Linked DNA regions of Homo sapiens: region 2 is linked to region 1. The links are contacts of gene promoters, found by promoter capture Hi-C in blood cells and fetal thymus (Javierre and others, 2016). All regions are on one chromosome and are shown on one strand. The core of a region is centred on a gene start or on the middle of the fragment in contact, and the rest is flanking DNA. Distances in the headings are between cores, read along the strand shown. Region 1 holds the start of ITGA11 (integrin subunit alpha 11). Region 2 has its middle 19 kb from the start of SPESP1.

Region 1 (7,342 bases), core at 3,427-5,926:
TGCTGCTTGGTGAGTGCTTCAGTGAAGGAGGAAGTGAGAGGCAGCAGGGAGGGGGTTTGGCCTCACTGACTTTTTCCTCCAGGTGGGATTTCACACGTCGTGTGACTCAGATCTTAAGTATATAGTATGAAAACTCTCCATGGAATTTTTTTGCAGCTCACTTATTTTAGATTTACAAGATGACCAGCACCAGTCTCCTCCTCTCCTTCTCCTGTCAGTGGTAACAAACTTAATGGGCATTTGACAAAGAATTCACACAGTTAGGATCTGCATGATGGGGTTGTGGAGGGTCGCCCTTGGACCACAGCTCCTATAGAAAGCACTCCATGCTGAAGATGTGTGGGTGTCTTTGGAGCTCACAGCTGCTTAGGGAAAAGTTCCAAATGGCTATGAATCCTTGGTGGTAGCCTACATACAGTTGGTGGGGAGTGGGTGGGCCTGGAAGGGGACTTCAGTGATGAGGATCAGCAGAGATACCATTTTTGAACCATATTAGAGGATTTTTAAGGCTCATTTTGTAGCTGACCTTCCCTGAGTCAGCCAGAGCCCATCACTGCCTGGGGAGGGTTATGATGGATCCTAGAACAATGTTCGACTTTGACCCCCAAAGTAAGCTCTGGAAGCCCATGGTGAGACAATAACACCCAAAGTCAGGCATTGTGGAGAAGAAACAGGGGCTTTTAAAATTCCCCAAATTCCCTTCTGCATAGCAAGAGCAAAGCCAGCTCAGCTTAGAACATATTTTTATCCTAAGTGATAGGAGCTGGGGGTGTTGGTGGAAGGGAGGGAGAATGCAAGGGAAGGTCCCTGCTGTTAGAAGAAGGAAGAGCTCCCCACTACAGGAGGGTGGAAAAAGAGGTTCAGAGAGGGCAAGGTTGAGAGGTAAGATACTGTCTGAGTTCTTCCAGGGCTCACAGCCCTGTGTGGATGGGCTGGGAATGGTGGGAAGAGCATGGAGATAGACATCCCCTCTCTGGGGGTCCACTGTGGGGTAGAGATGGGGTCATGGTGAGTAAGCAGAAAAAGAGTGAGACTCCAGGGTCTGCTTGTGATATGGAAAGATCCAGAAGCTCCTCAGCTAATGGCAGCTGAGGGGCTTGGCTGTCAAAGTGGGCAATGGGGTGGCAAAGTGACAAACTTTCCCTTCTTCCCTGCTCTCCACTGGGAAGGAGAGGCTGGGAGCAAGTCTTGGACCTCTGGAGCCTTTGTACACCTGTGGTGTCTAGCACTGTGCTTTTCCACAGGTTGCTTTCTGTTGGGTAGGACCCCTACCCACAAGGGCCATGTTGCATGGTATGGGCCTTCTCCTTTTCCACACCACAATACACCCACATCAAGAGCATACTGACTTCAAGACAGCCCCGATGGTAAACAAACAAACAAAACAACAACCCTGAGTTCTTATTATGATCAAGAGTTTGGGCCAGGGCTTTGCGGGAGGGACTAGGAAAGTCTTCACTCATTTGGGGCCCTGGCATGTATGTCTCCTCTGATTCTTCAATGTACTTCCTCTAAACTTCTCTTGAGAACTTGAGTTTGAAAGTTATATCTCTGTGTCCTTAGATCCTGAATAGTCAATATCTTGAGTGCTACTGCTGCTGCTGATGATGTTGGAGAAGACAACCTCCTTGAGTGCTTAATACATGCCTGGCACTTTCTAAGCATTAATCTTTGTGATAACTCTAAGTTCTATTATTACCCCCACTTTGTAGGTGAGGAAACTGAGGCACAGAGCCATGGAGTAACTTGCCAAGAGCACAGAGCCCTAACCGGCAGGGGCTAGGCCAATCCCAGGCAGTGAAACTCCAGGGCCTCCACCCTTACGCTGTGTCTGATCTCACTTTGTGTCTTTATGGGGCCTGGCAGATAACAGGTGCTCAGCAAAGATTATGCTTCTAAGAATCATCACCCTTCCTACAGATAGGTTATGACTGTAAAGCTCTGGTCAATGGATCTCTCTCTTTGGACTTGATTACTTTTTTTTTAGGCTTTCCTGTTAGTTTTGTCTACCCCATCACGCTGTCCAGCCTGCAGCTGGAGCTCTGGGAGAGTAGATGCTCTGAGGTCTCACCCTCAACTTGGCCTCTGACAGGTTCCCTGCCCAGCCAAACTGCCATCACCAGTAGACAAGCTTCCTGGTAATCCTCACATTGAATTCATGTGATGCATGGATGAGGTATCAACATCAGTCCTGTCCTGGAGCCTGAGGAGTGAACCCAATGATCCCTGAGACCCTTCTAGTCTTCAAAGTCCACACTGACCAGAGTGGTTTTAAAATATTCATCATCTTCTTTAACTAGTCTCAGAAAATAATACTCCAAAATATGAACATTCCCACTTTCAGGCCCATGCACACTCTACACACTTTTCCAGGGCCAGTTCAAATGATATCTCCTCCTCCAGGAAGCCTTCCTTGCTTATCTGGCTGAAATTGAACTTCTCTTGTTTGAACACCCAGCCCTTGGTTTCCCCAAGCCATTCACTCCCTGGTGCCTCTGTTTAGCTTTCCCTGGCCTTGGCTTATTCTCAGTTACAGGCAGGACCCAGATTGCACACACGCTAGGGCCCCACCCCCAGCTCCTTGCAAGCAGATGTCATTGTTCCAACATTGATTGATATGTTTAATGAATCCCATATTTCAAGAATGCAACTGACCAGACATAACTCAGGAGTGGTTTTCGCCATATAAGCGGAGCTCTGAGTCACAAATCCTGTGTCTTCAGAGGTCCTTTAATGTCATTCTCTGCCCCCTCCTCCTTGAGTAGCAACAACATTAACAACCATTGATTAAAGCCTACTGTGCACCCAGCCCTGTGTTAAGGGCCTTTCTTACAGTGCCTTAGTGCATCCTGACAACTTTACAGGACACGGAATTTGTGTCTCCATTCTTCACATAAGGAAACCTGTTGGAAAGGTCGCATAACCAGTCCAAGATTGAACAGCTAGCAGGGTGCAGAGCCAGAAGTGGAAGCCAGGTCTGATTCCAAAGCCATTGCTCTTAGCTTCCTGAGGTCCAGGCTGTCCCTAGCCCCTAAGGCAGCCACTCCTTCCCAAGGTTCTGATGCAGCCACCTATCTGGAGTCACACAGGAGTGCGTCTCTTTTCTTGTGGCTGGATCTCCTAGTGATATGAGGACAGTTCCTGGAGAAGATTCTCCCCTCCTGTCTAAACACACCTAAATGGGCTTGGCCTCCTCCCGCAGCTGGCTTCTAGTTGCATATTGGCCTGGTGGCAGTTCTTCCCCTGCTCTCCCTTCCAAGCCCCCACAACTCAATGTATCAATGATTGTTTTAAACTGTGACTCTAGGATTCCACTAGCCAGAGGCCCTTTCAACCATGGGCCCTCTGAGAAGCTCCTCTGTAGGCCGACAGGAGGGTGGACTTGCTTCGCGTGGTACCCGGGGACTGGGGCAAGCGGCTGCGGGATAGGGGTCTCCACCTGAGCTCCCTGAGGGCACCTCTCCCACTACCACCGCATCTGACCCCCACTACTGGCCCCAGCTCGGGCCTGGAGCCCACGCAGAAGGGGAGGCAAGGTTGAGCGCCCACACCCGGCCAGTAACCGAGGCGCTGGCCCTTGCCGGAGCACTTGGCCGTCTTCCGCAGAACAGCATCACTGGCAGCCGCCCCGCGTGGAGGGTGGAGCCGGGGAGCCCGGTGTGGGACGGCCGGGGCCAGGGTACCCTAGGGCGGAGAGCTCAGGGCTGGCTTCCCGCTCCCAGCCGCGCGCCCCTCGGGCCGGAGGTTCCTGCCGCGCCCCGACACCTGGAGTGCATTAGGCGGCGGCGCGCGTCTAGGCGACGGCGGCTTTCCCCAGATTATTGAATAATTGCATAATTCCGAGCGCGGGTTGGGAGGCAATGCCGGGTCCCTACCCCGGGTGTCAGGTAACGTTTCGGGGGTCCTGCGCTGCGCGACTGTGTCCCGCCGCTGCTGGCCGGGCAGACGAGAGCTAGCCCCCGCCTACCGGCCATCGCCCCGGGGCTTTGCTCTGTCTTTGGCCGGAGGCACTCTGCGCAGCCCTCACCCCCACCCTTCAGCCCTCCGGGGCCGCCGCGCCCGGCTCTCCAAACTTTGAGATGCTTCCCCGGAGCCAGGCAGGAGGGCAGCCAGGGCACACTCTCTTGGCGCTGATTCCCTTCCCCAGCCGGGGCCGTGCGCCCTCGGCGCTCCCGGGACACCCGAGTGCCCCTGGCAGCCGTGCGGGAACCCCGGCATGGGCCTTGGAGGCACCTAAGGCGCCCAGGAGGGCCACCAGATCTGGGAGCTTTTCAACTCAAGCCTCTTCAACTCTTCCCAAACACACCAAAGAGTCCCGGCTTTCAATAGCCTTCGCACCTCCCTCTTTAGCGAAACTTGACTGAACCGCTAGACTGGGGCCAGTCCCTGGGGGACCCACGTCCCCAAGAGCAGCTGAGGTCTGACCCTGGGAGGAGGGTCGCGTCCCGATCCTGGCCGCTGGATCCAAGCCCCGAGGGCCCAGGGAGGGACTCCGAGAGGCAAGGGGAGGCAGAGGGTGGGCACCTACCTGGCCACAGGCTGAGCGCCCAGGCCACCACCAGGCCCCTGGGCAGGTCCATGGCCCGCGGCACGGCGGCTGGGTCCGGTGTGCAGCGGCGGCGGGGGGCGGCAAGCCAGAGCGGCAGCCTCCTCGGCGCGGCGCCTGCAGCCTGCACTGCGCGGGGCGCCGGGCTCCCTGACAGCTGCGGCTCATTCAGAGGAAGTGGGAGGGCTCGAGCGGAGGGGAGGGGCGCCGGACACCACTCCGGCTCGGGCTCTGGGCCAGTCTCGGCCGCTCTGCCACCTGGGCAGGCGGCGCGCTGCCTCGACGCGCCTGTGCAGCGCTCCTTCTCCGCCAACCCCACGTCAGCCTCTGGAGAAAACTCCAGAGAACCGCTCCTGGGAACCCCCTCACCAGTGTAGCACCGCACCGCCTCAGTCAGATTCTGTTCAGGAAAAGTGGTTTTTATTCCCATTTCCCAGTGAAAAGAGATTCACAAAACTCAGAGGGTACCCAAGCTGGCTCAGGAACACCTGCTGGAACGCAGGTCTCCCTTGGCCAAGTGAGTGGATGTCCCTCAAAGGTCCATTCTAAGACATCCCCGTGTCTCCCTGCACCCTGCGGCTTGAATTGTAGAGGCTAGTGTTTCTTCTGACCCTGGAATACATGCAGATTCGCCTCCACTGCCACTCCCTGAGCCTCCACACCTGAGGCATTCCAAAGCACCCAGGGACACCGTGCACCCCCTCTTAACCTAACGTGAAGCTCTTCTTTGTAACCCTGCCACCTTCTTTCCCTCTTCTAATCACTGGTAGTTAAATTCAATGCACATTTATCTCAAGAGCTTTAAATCCAGGCCCCGGACCTCCACCGCGCTTGTGGAGGCTTTTCCAGCAATGGAGGAAGCCGAGGCAGAGGGTAGGAAGGCCAAGATGCAGGGAAAGCCACAGCAGAGCGCCCTTCCCCCACTTTCTCAGGAAAGGCTTCCTTCACCCCCTCTTCCCGTCCCCACCAGGTTGAGTCCCAGACACATGCTGATATTCCCCAGCCCGCTCTCCCTCATTTCTCTTCATTGTGCTTAGTAGAGAAGCAAGGCATCAATTGGTGTGATCATTTAACTTTTCTCTCCTGTGCAGACTGAAAACACCATCAGGGTAGAAATCTCTGGTTCACAATGGAGTACTCAGCCCCTAACACCCAGGAACAAAGTAGGTGGGCGGGTGGATGGATGGGTGAGTACAGGTGGTGTGTGGGTGCACAAAGGATAGAGTTTTCTATCTGGGAGGTATTGGAAGGGCTTCCCAGAGGAGGTGATGTTCAGTCAGGGCCCCTGAAGATGAGCTGGAGTTTGAGAAGACCCAGGTTCACATAAGTGAAGTGGGCTTGTGCTCGTCTCCCAACCTCACTATCTTTCGGTTGGCTATCTGGGTTTTACTTCATCTTCACCTCACCCATTCAGCCACAGACTCGGGGAAGGTGATTCCGTCCCTGGTGTGTGTGTGTGTGTGTGTGTGTGTGTAAGGAGGCATGCGGTTCAGGCTGAAATGAATCAGTATGTTGCCCTTCCCAGCCCATCGTTTCAGAAAGGGCAATATGACAAAAGAAAAAGTTTTTTTGGGAAGCAAGCTTTCTTGCCTTTCTAAAAGAGCCCCTAGAACAAACAAACAAATGAACTAACTCTCTCTCCTCACCTCTCCCACTCCTGCCTCCTCTCCCAGCCTGGGACAAGGAACTTTGTAGGCTCAGAAGTTGACAGGGTCAGGGTAGGGAAGGAGGATCTGGCCTTGAGATGAGGTGGACACTGGATGACAGAATGGAGGATCTTGTTGAACTCCTGAATGAAGCCACCCCTTAACCCCACTCCCCTTGGGACTTATCAGTTATACGACAGTGAGTCCTCTTCACTGAGTTGAGTTTAAGCCAGCTGAGTTGAATGTAGAACACCCCTACAGCTAGGGAATGGGCTGCAGCCCACATTCCTGCCTTGCACAAATCTCCAGGTGCATCAGAACGACCTGGAGCACGTGCAAAGAATGCAAATTCCCCAAGGATCAGGGCATGCTGGTGGGTGCCCCAGGCACCTCTGACGTGTGGGTGGTCTGCAGCTTGTGCTCAGAGTCTGCATGCTGCTTGCTGAAGGGGCGCACTGTAGTGGCTGTCCTAGCTGCGCTGCTGCTGGTCTCGCTGGTAACAATTCTACCATTCATTCACCTTCACCGTCCTCACAGGTGCCTGGGGAATGGGGGTCCTGAGGATCACTCTGTGTGCTTTTGTGTAATGTGGGAGGGTGAGGGGAGAGGTGTGCCCTCATTTGTTCTTTCAACAGATCCTACAGAGTGCCTACTGTGCCCCTGTGCTCTGTAGGACACACGGAAGGAGAACCCCACACTAGGGCAGCTGGTGATGGAGCTGAGGAGACAAGACATAACCATGTATTTATTTAATCATAATCTGTTATTTATTAATCTATTTAAAACCATTTATTATTTCATCACTATTAAACATTATTTAAATCACACCCAAGGCAGCAGCATATGAGTGACAAGTGCACAATCCAGACTCTAAGGCTGGAGAACTGCAGAGAATTTGGTGAAGGGCTTTATGAAAGCTGTGATTTCTGTTGAATAATAATAATAACTCTTTACATGTACACAGTGTTTTAACTGATTTATTTATTCACATGCCATAAACTGTGCCATAGAATCCAGTAGTTGTTAGTATATTCACAAGATTGTAAAATCATCCTCACTAATTTCACAATATTTTTATCACCCCAAAAAGAAGCCCTGTAACCATGAGCAGTCACTCCCCATTCCTTCCCACCAGTCCCTGGCAACCACA
Region 2 (6,857 bases), core at 2,801-5,300, 480 kb after region 1:
GTAGTTGTCTGTGAAGAAGAAAAGGTAAGTTCTCACTGGAGCAGGAGTTGTGGGGTTGCAGAAAGTGGGTACAGCAAGAGTGGAGGAGTGAGAGGAAGGCTGGTGTGGAAATGGTCTGGCAAAGCATTTTAGAGAAGCGGTGGGGCTCAGGGAAAGCCCAGTGAGGCTGGATTTCAGAGTGGTTGGTAACAAAATTCCAAATTTGTGAAAACATAACTCTGAGTTTTAAATACAGCTGATCCTTAAATGATGCAGGGGTTAGGGGTGCCTACCCCCTGCTCAGTCAAAAATCCATGTGTAACTTTTGACTCACCCAAAACTTAACTACTGATAGCCTTACTGATAACATAAACAGTCAATTAACACATATTTAGTATATTAGATATATTATATACTATATTCTTAAAGTAAGCTAGAACAAAAGAAAATGTTATTTAAAAAATCCTAAGGAAAATCCATTGACAGTACTCTACTATATTTATCTGTATTGTAAGTTAACTGTTTACAAGGTGAATTGTCTTTCTGAAATGGCAACCATAGCTGCAGACCTCAATCCACAGTACGTATCAAGCAATCTAACTTTTTCTTGTAATGTCATGAATTTTCTCTGCTTCTTGAGACACTTCCAGCATCACTAGGGGCACTTTGTATGGATTCCATGGTGTGAGTCAAGGTTTACAGTATTGAACTAAACATAATGAAAGCTATGTGAGAACCATGAGAGATCACATGTACTGTGGTTCCAATGGTCTGCAGGGAGAAACTGCTCACCTGGAGATGACCTGCATCACTTGAGTTAAGCAGATACTCACGACAGTTGAGCTCCCCACAATAGCAACAGGAGGTGGCTATGAAGTTTTTACAGTAGTACAGTATATACCACAGTTCATTTGGTGCATTACGATTTAATACTGCATCTTATATTTGTTTACATTTCTCTTGACTGAATTGTGTCATCTACCGTCTGTAAGTGTGTGCATAAGTTTTTATAAATTTTAACATATTATAATGGACTCATTTTATGGTAATAAATGATAAAATGGACCAATATCGACGTATATTTTATACATTTATGACATACTTAACTTTCTTAATTTTTTCATTATTTTTAAGCTACATGGTTCACATCAAAGTTTTTTCAAATTGTTGGAAATGTAGAACACATTTTCTAATGTATTTATTTTAAAAACCCACATAGAAGTGGACTCATGTAGTTCAAATCTGTGTTGTTGAGGGGTTAACTGTTTATCAAATGATCCCTCCCACCAGCCCACACACTGAGGATACATGCCAAGTCTATCATATCTAAGTCTCATTCTCATTCCAGCTTGTTATATTTGAGCAAGCAGCCAGGTGGTCACAGGTGTTAGGACTGAGTAGAAAAATAATCTGGAGCATGGACCACAGAGGCTGTGCTTTTTATCTAGTGCCTAAAAGAGTCTACTGTCCATATCAGTGGCAATGTATTAAATTACATTACAAATTAGTAAACAAATGAAAAAAAAGTCAAACTGTTTAAGCCAAAACATTCAGCCTTTTGGAAAGATAACAAAAATTCAAACATGTTTCCTTAGGGTCCTACTGTGAGCTAGATTAGAATTTTGTAAATTAAAATTAGAATAATACAGGCACCTCAATTTGTTATGTTTTAACAATGAAAATAAAGAAACTGCTTATTAAATTGTTCTTTAGTGAATGTGAGTTTGTATTGTAACTCTATGACATATTTCCTACTCTATAGAGAGAAGATCATAAACCCATAAATGTCTGTCCTTGAAAGCAGAGAGAGAACATGTGCTTCATGATAGCACCAGGCCAGACTGCATCTGTGAAGAATATAGAAAAGTTTGCAAAGGTGTATCCCTTCATTGGGTATGTAAAACACCTCTACCTGTTAATGTCATTAACTGCAGTTTGGGTCACTCCAAAGCATATTATTTCTAGACAGACAACATACAGTGTCTTTAGAATGTAAACACTGGACAACACAGCAAGACCCTGTCTCTACAAAAAATTAAAAAGTTAGCTGGGTGTGGTAGCATGCACCTGTAGTCCTAGCTACTCAGGAGGCTGAGGCAAGAGGATCTTTTGAGCCCAAGAGTTTGAGGCTGCAATGAGCTATGATCACAACACTGCACTCTAGCCTGGGCAACAGAGTGAGACCCTGTCTGTATATTAAAAAAAGAATATAAAGACTGGATCTAGATAGAATTGGCTTTATGTATTACACATATCAGATAAAAAAACCTTCAAAAGGTACATTTTTATAAAATTATTTTTGTGCTAAACAGTATAAAATGTATCATCTTAACCATTTTTAAGTGTGAAGTTCAGTAGTGTCAGCTATTTTCATATTGTTGTGCAACAGATTTCTAAAAGCTTTTTCATCTTGCAAAACTGAAGCTCTATACCTATTAAACAGCAACTCCCCCTCTCCCCTTTCCCCAGTCCCTAGCAACAATTCTGCTTGTTTCTAAGAGTCTGGTTTCTTTAAAACCACATTTAAGTGGAATCATGTAGTATTTGTCTTTTTGTGACTGTCTTATTTCACTTAGCGTAATGTTCCCAAGATTTGACCTAGAACAAACTGCTGAATGTGCTTATTACAGTATCTGTATGCCTTTTGGTGGGAAAATGTTGAAAAAAAAAAAAAAACAAAAAAAAAAAAGACAGCTGGTAACACTGCAATGCCCAACGCCCAATTCCAAAGCTCCTTAAATATTCCTTGCAGAGTTAATGTTTTGGAGCAGTGCTTCTGGCAGGCCTCTTCTCACTTTTTGTTTTGTTAGGGGGCAGTTGATGGCATACCTAATATATTCAACATCCCCGATCCTCTATAGGGCAAGATTACCTTCTGTAATAATCAGTAATAATGATTCTCTTGATTTGTTCTTTAGTTTTATAACAACTACTAAAAGAGTATACATTTTAAAGATATTTCACATATGAAATAAAATTTGTGTTAACAACAAAAATATATCTCACAATTTGCCCTACTTTACTGTTTCCAACTTTATTATTTTTTTCCTTTTATTTTTTGAGATGGAGTCTTGCTCCGTCACCCAGGTTGGAGTGCGGTGGCATGATCTCGGCTAACTGCAACCTCTGCCTCTCAAGTTTAAGTGATTCTCTTACCTCAGTCTTCCAAAGTAGCTGGAATTACAGGCACATGTCACCATGCCCAGCTAGTTTTTGTATTTTTAGTAGAGATGGGTTTTTGCTGCGTTGGCCAGGCTGGTCTCAAACTCCTGACCTCAGGTGATCTGCCTGCCTCAGCCTCCCAAAGTGCTGGAATTACAGGCATGAGCCACCGCACCTGGCCTGTTTTCAACTTTAAATACAAATGAAAACGCTAAGAGGTCACAAAGACTGACATGATTGAAGTAACTCAGGTTTTGCTTCTTCATCTATAAGGCTGTGCCATCATTGCTGATGTCAAATCTACCATCTCAATGCAGGAATGTGTTTATCACTTGAGCCGGATTCAGGCACACACTGTGCCAGACAGCTGGAACAATTCTCAAGTATAAGCGGTAAACAGATGTACTAATTGACAGATTACATGTATATTCTTAAAACTCACCAGTAATCACTGCTATTGTATAGAGTGCAGACCAATAATTTTGTTTTTAGGTAGGAGTGTTTTATTATTGACTTTTTTTTTTTTTTTTTTTTTTTTTTTAGACAGAGTCTTGCTCTGTCGCCCAGGCTGGAGTGCAGTGGTGCATTGTTGGCTCAGTGCAACCTCCGCCTCCCTAGTTCAAGTGATTCTCTTGCCTCAGCCTCCCAAGTAGCTGGGATTACAGGCATGTGCCACCACATCTGGCTAATTTTTGTACTTTTAGTAGAGACAGGATTTCGCCATGTTGGCCAGGCTGGTTTCAAACTCCTGACCTCAGGTGGTCCGCCTGCCTTGGCCTCCCAAAGTGCTGGGATTACAGGTGTGAGCCAACGTGCCTGGCCTTACCATTGACATTTTTTATAATTGCCAGGGAGTAGTGACAATAAAAAGTAGGTCAACTTTCCATTGGTTTTGTTACTTTATAAATTTTTTTTCGATGTTCCCTCTTGCCTGCACCACGGGCAGGCTTACCTTGTTCTTGGCACTCCACCCTCTTGAATGTCTTACATTTTGCCACTTTAGTGGCAAAATGACTCCTCCCACCTCATCAGAGCTGCCACGGCCAGAACTCACTTTCACAGAGGGCCTTGAATTTAGAATGTGGACATGCCATTTATATGAGGCTATTTCTGTAGTCAGAGACAGACCAACAAGAATGAAGGAAGGAGATGTTCACCTTACAATGTTTAACTTATGCCGTTAGTGGACTGCTATGTGTAAATTAATATTGTTAAAAACTCTGAGATTATTTTTATAAATAGCACAAGTATAATAAATTGTACATTTGGGGTGTTTTAAATGGGTTAATTTAAAAAATTTAAATGTTAAAACAGATCGCAACTTTTATAACCATTTTGCCATTTCTACAAAATGACAAAGTAATAGATGCCATTGAGCCTGTTTGCACTGCTAAAGCAACCAACCCTCTGGGTTGCACAGAACTACAGGATTTCACGGGATGCAGGGCTGTCAGTGCTAAAACCCAGACAGTCCTGTCCAGGTAAACCAGGATGGTTGGTTACTGACGTAGGCCCTTCAGAGTACAGCACACCCTAATCTTAGAGGATGCCTGGTTTCTTACTGCTGAGTCTGGAGATTTTTTCTGGTAAAGAACAGAAGATAGATGTTTTCCCTTCATGCTGAAACAGGCACTCAAACTAGAAGAGTTCAGCTTAGAGGAACGGAGGCCTCCACAACCCTCTGCCCACATCTTTCTAAACCAATCTCTAACTCAAATAGACTACCGGACAACAACAACAACAAATGCAATTACATAATGTCCTTTATATAACTCAGAGTAGAGTGTTTTATAAACTAAAATCAAAATGGCCATAGAAAATTTGCAATTTTCTTTCTGACCTGAGAGAGACTTACCTTTCTCAAAATTACCTGGAGGCTGTTGCCACACCTCTGTGGCATAAATTCAGAAAGCCCTAGATTTGGGGTTCCAGGGCTGAAATGTAAGTATCCAGAGATCTAAGAAATATTTTTGAATATGGAACGAAATAAAAGGTTCAGAGAGTATTACAGCCCTGCTGAAACTGTACCCCAAGTGAATCGCATTACTAAAAAATCAATACACATTACCAACAGCCAAACTACTGTATTGTTGGAGGTTTAGTGCTGAAACAAATAATAGTAAAAGAGAATAGTGGTGTTTCTCATAGATTGCATGTTGTCCTTTAACCAATGGCATGGTCTGCAGAATCTATAAATAATGATTTATAGTAGAACTTAAGTCTTGAAATAAAGTCATTTGTGATCAAGTTTGATTAACATATTTGCCTGTTGCTACTTGAAAAACAAAACTAAACCAAATCAAAACAAAAAAGACTTCTAGACCTGAAAGAAAAGAATCAAAATGGTAAAATAAACAAAAAAGTTACGGCAGCTTCATTAATTAACCACTTAAGACTTGGCCATTCACAGCACCAGTGAGATTTCAACTGCAAGGTCAGTTAAAACAAAGGCAATTGGAGCTCATGAATGACTGAAAATAGATTACTTTTATCAAAGTGGAGAGTCAGATAAAAAGTCTCACCAAAAGGATGTGGGGAAGACAGTAATCATGTCTGCATTTGTGGAAAAGTAAACGGATACAAGCTTTTTGGAGGGCAATTTGACCCCATATACAGAATTTTAAATACGCATATACTCTGATTGAGTAAGGTCATTTCTGAGAACCCAGCACACTGAATATTTACACAAATTTGCAAAAATATATGAACAAGGAAAGCTTATTGCTGAATATCTGTAACATTTGTAATAGTTAAAAGTTGACAACCTAGATATTTAACAATAGAGTTAAAAACTTCATTGAGGTGTTTTGTATACACTGACATGGAAGTAAGTTGGGAATAAACTGGGGAGAAGAAAACAAGTTACAGGCATGTACAGTATTAAAATAAGTTAAAAAATAAAACAATCTGAATACATGTGTATATGTATGCTCATAAATAATACAGGAAATACTATATTCCCAGCAAATTGTCAAGGGTGGTTAGTACTTGGGAATGGGACTGGAAGTATTTCATTTGAATTTTTTTAGGGTGTGCTTATATTAGTTTCTGTTTTTTAAGGCAGAATTTTTTTTTTTTTTTTGAGACAGAGTTTCACTCTGTTGCTCAGGCTGGAGTGCAGTGGCACAATCTCGGCTCACTGCAATCTCCGTCTCCTTGGTTCAAGCAATTCTCCTGATTCAGCCTCCCAAGTAGCTGGGATTGCAGGTGTGTGCCAGGTCTGGCTAATTTTTGTATTTTTAGTAGAGATGGGGTTTCGCCATGTTGGCCAGGCTGGTCTCGAACTCCTGACCTCAAGTGATCCACCTGCCTTGGCCTCCCAAAGTGCTGGGATTACAGGCATGAGCCACCGTGTCTGGCCAGAATGTCTTTAAAAACACTTTTTTTTATTTTTATTTGTTTTTTTTTTTTTAGAATCAGGGAGCTGTTGTTAGGTCCTTACTCTGAATACCATGTACTTGCATTGTCTACATAAGAGACAAAAAGCAGTGGTGACTGCCACTGGTGACAAACCAGGCTCTCCACACCATCTCAGAAAACAAATGAACAAACAAACACCTTATCTATCCTACTATATTTTGAGGAAAAGGGTTCACTTAGGTAATATTAAAGTCACTTATCAAATAAAGCTAATATATTGTCTAAAGAACTAAAGTTATGTGTTTGGGCCTATTCATATTGCTCTATTTTAAATATGGAGGATAAAAAGAATAAAG

Evidence for each region. The method cuts DNA at HindIII sites, captures the fragments that hold promoters and counts their contacts. A CHiCAGO score of 5 or more calls a contact.
Region 2: a fragment that was not itself captured here is called in contact with the fragment with the promoter of ITGA11 in region 1 in 1 of 17 cell types (M0 macrophages); the score reaches 5.0 in M0 macrophages.

The regions. Positions count from the first base shown.
Region 1 is chr15:68,427,487-68,434,828 of GRCh38, forward strand. It overlaps ITGA11 (integrin subunit alpha 11), which reads right to left and starts at 4,677. Exons shown (of 30, transcript NM_001004439.2): 1 at 4,529-4,677. The coding sequence starts at 4,580. RefSeq lists an enhancer at 3,078-3,837 and a silencer at 6,384-6,678. The HindIII fragment of the contact is 3,996 bases long and covers 2,130-6,125 here.
Region 2 is chr15:68,908,468-68,915,324 of GRCh38, forward strand. No RefSeq gene overlaps it. Among named protein-coding and RNA genes, the nearest start is that of SPESP1, 19 kb to the right of the region's middle. The HindIII fragment of the contact is 3,346 bases long and covers 2,378-5,723 here.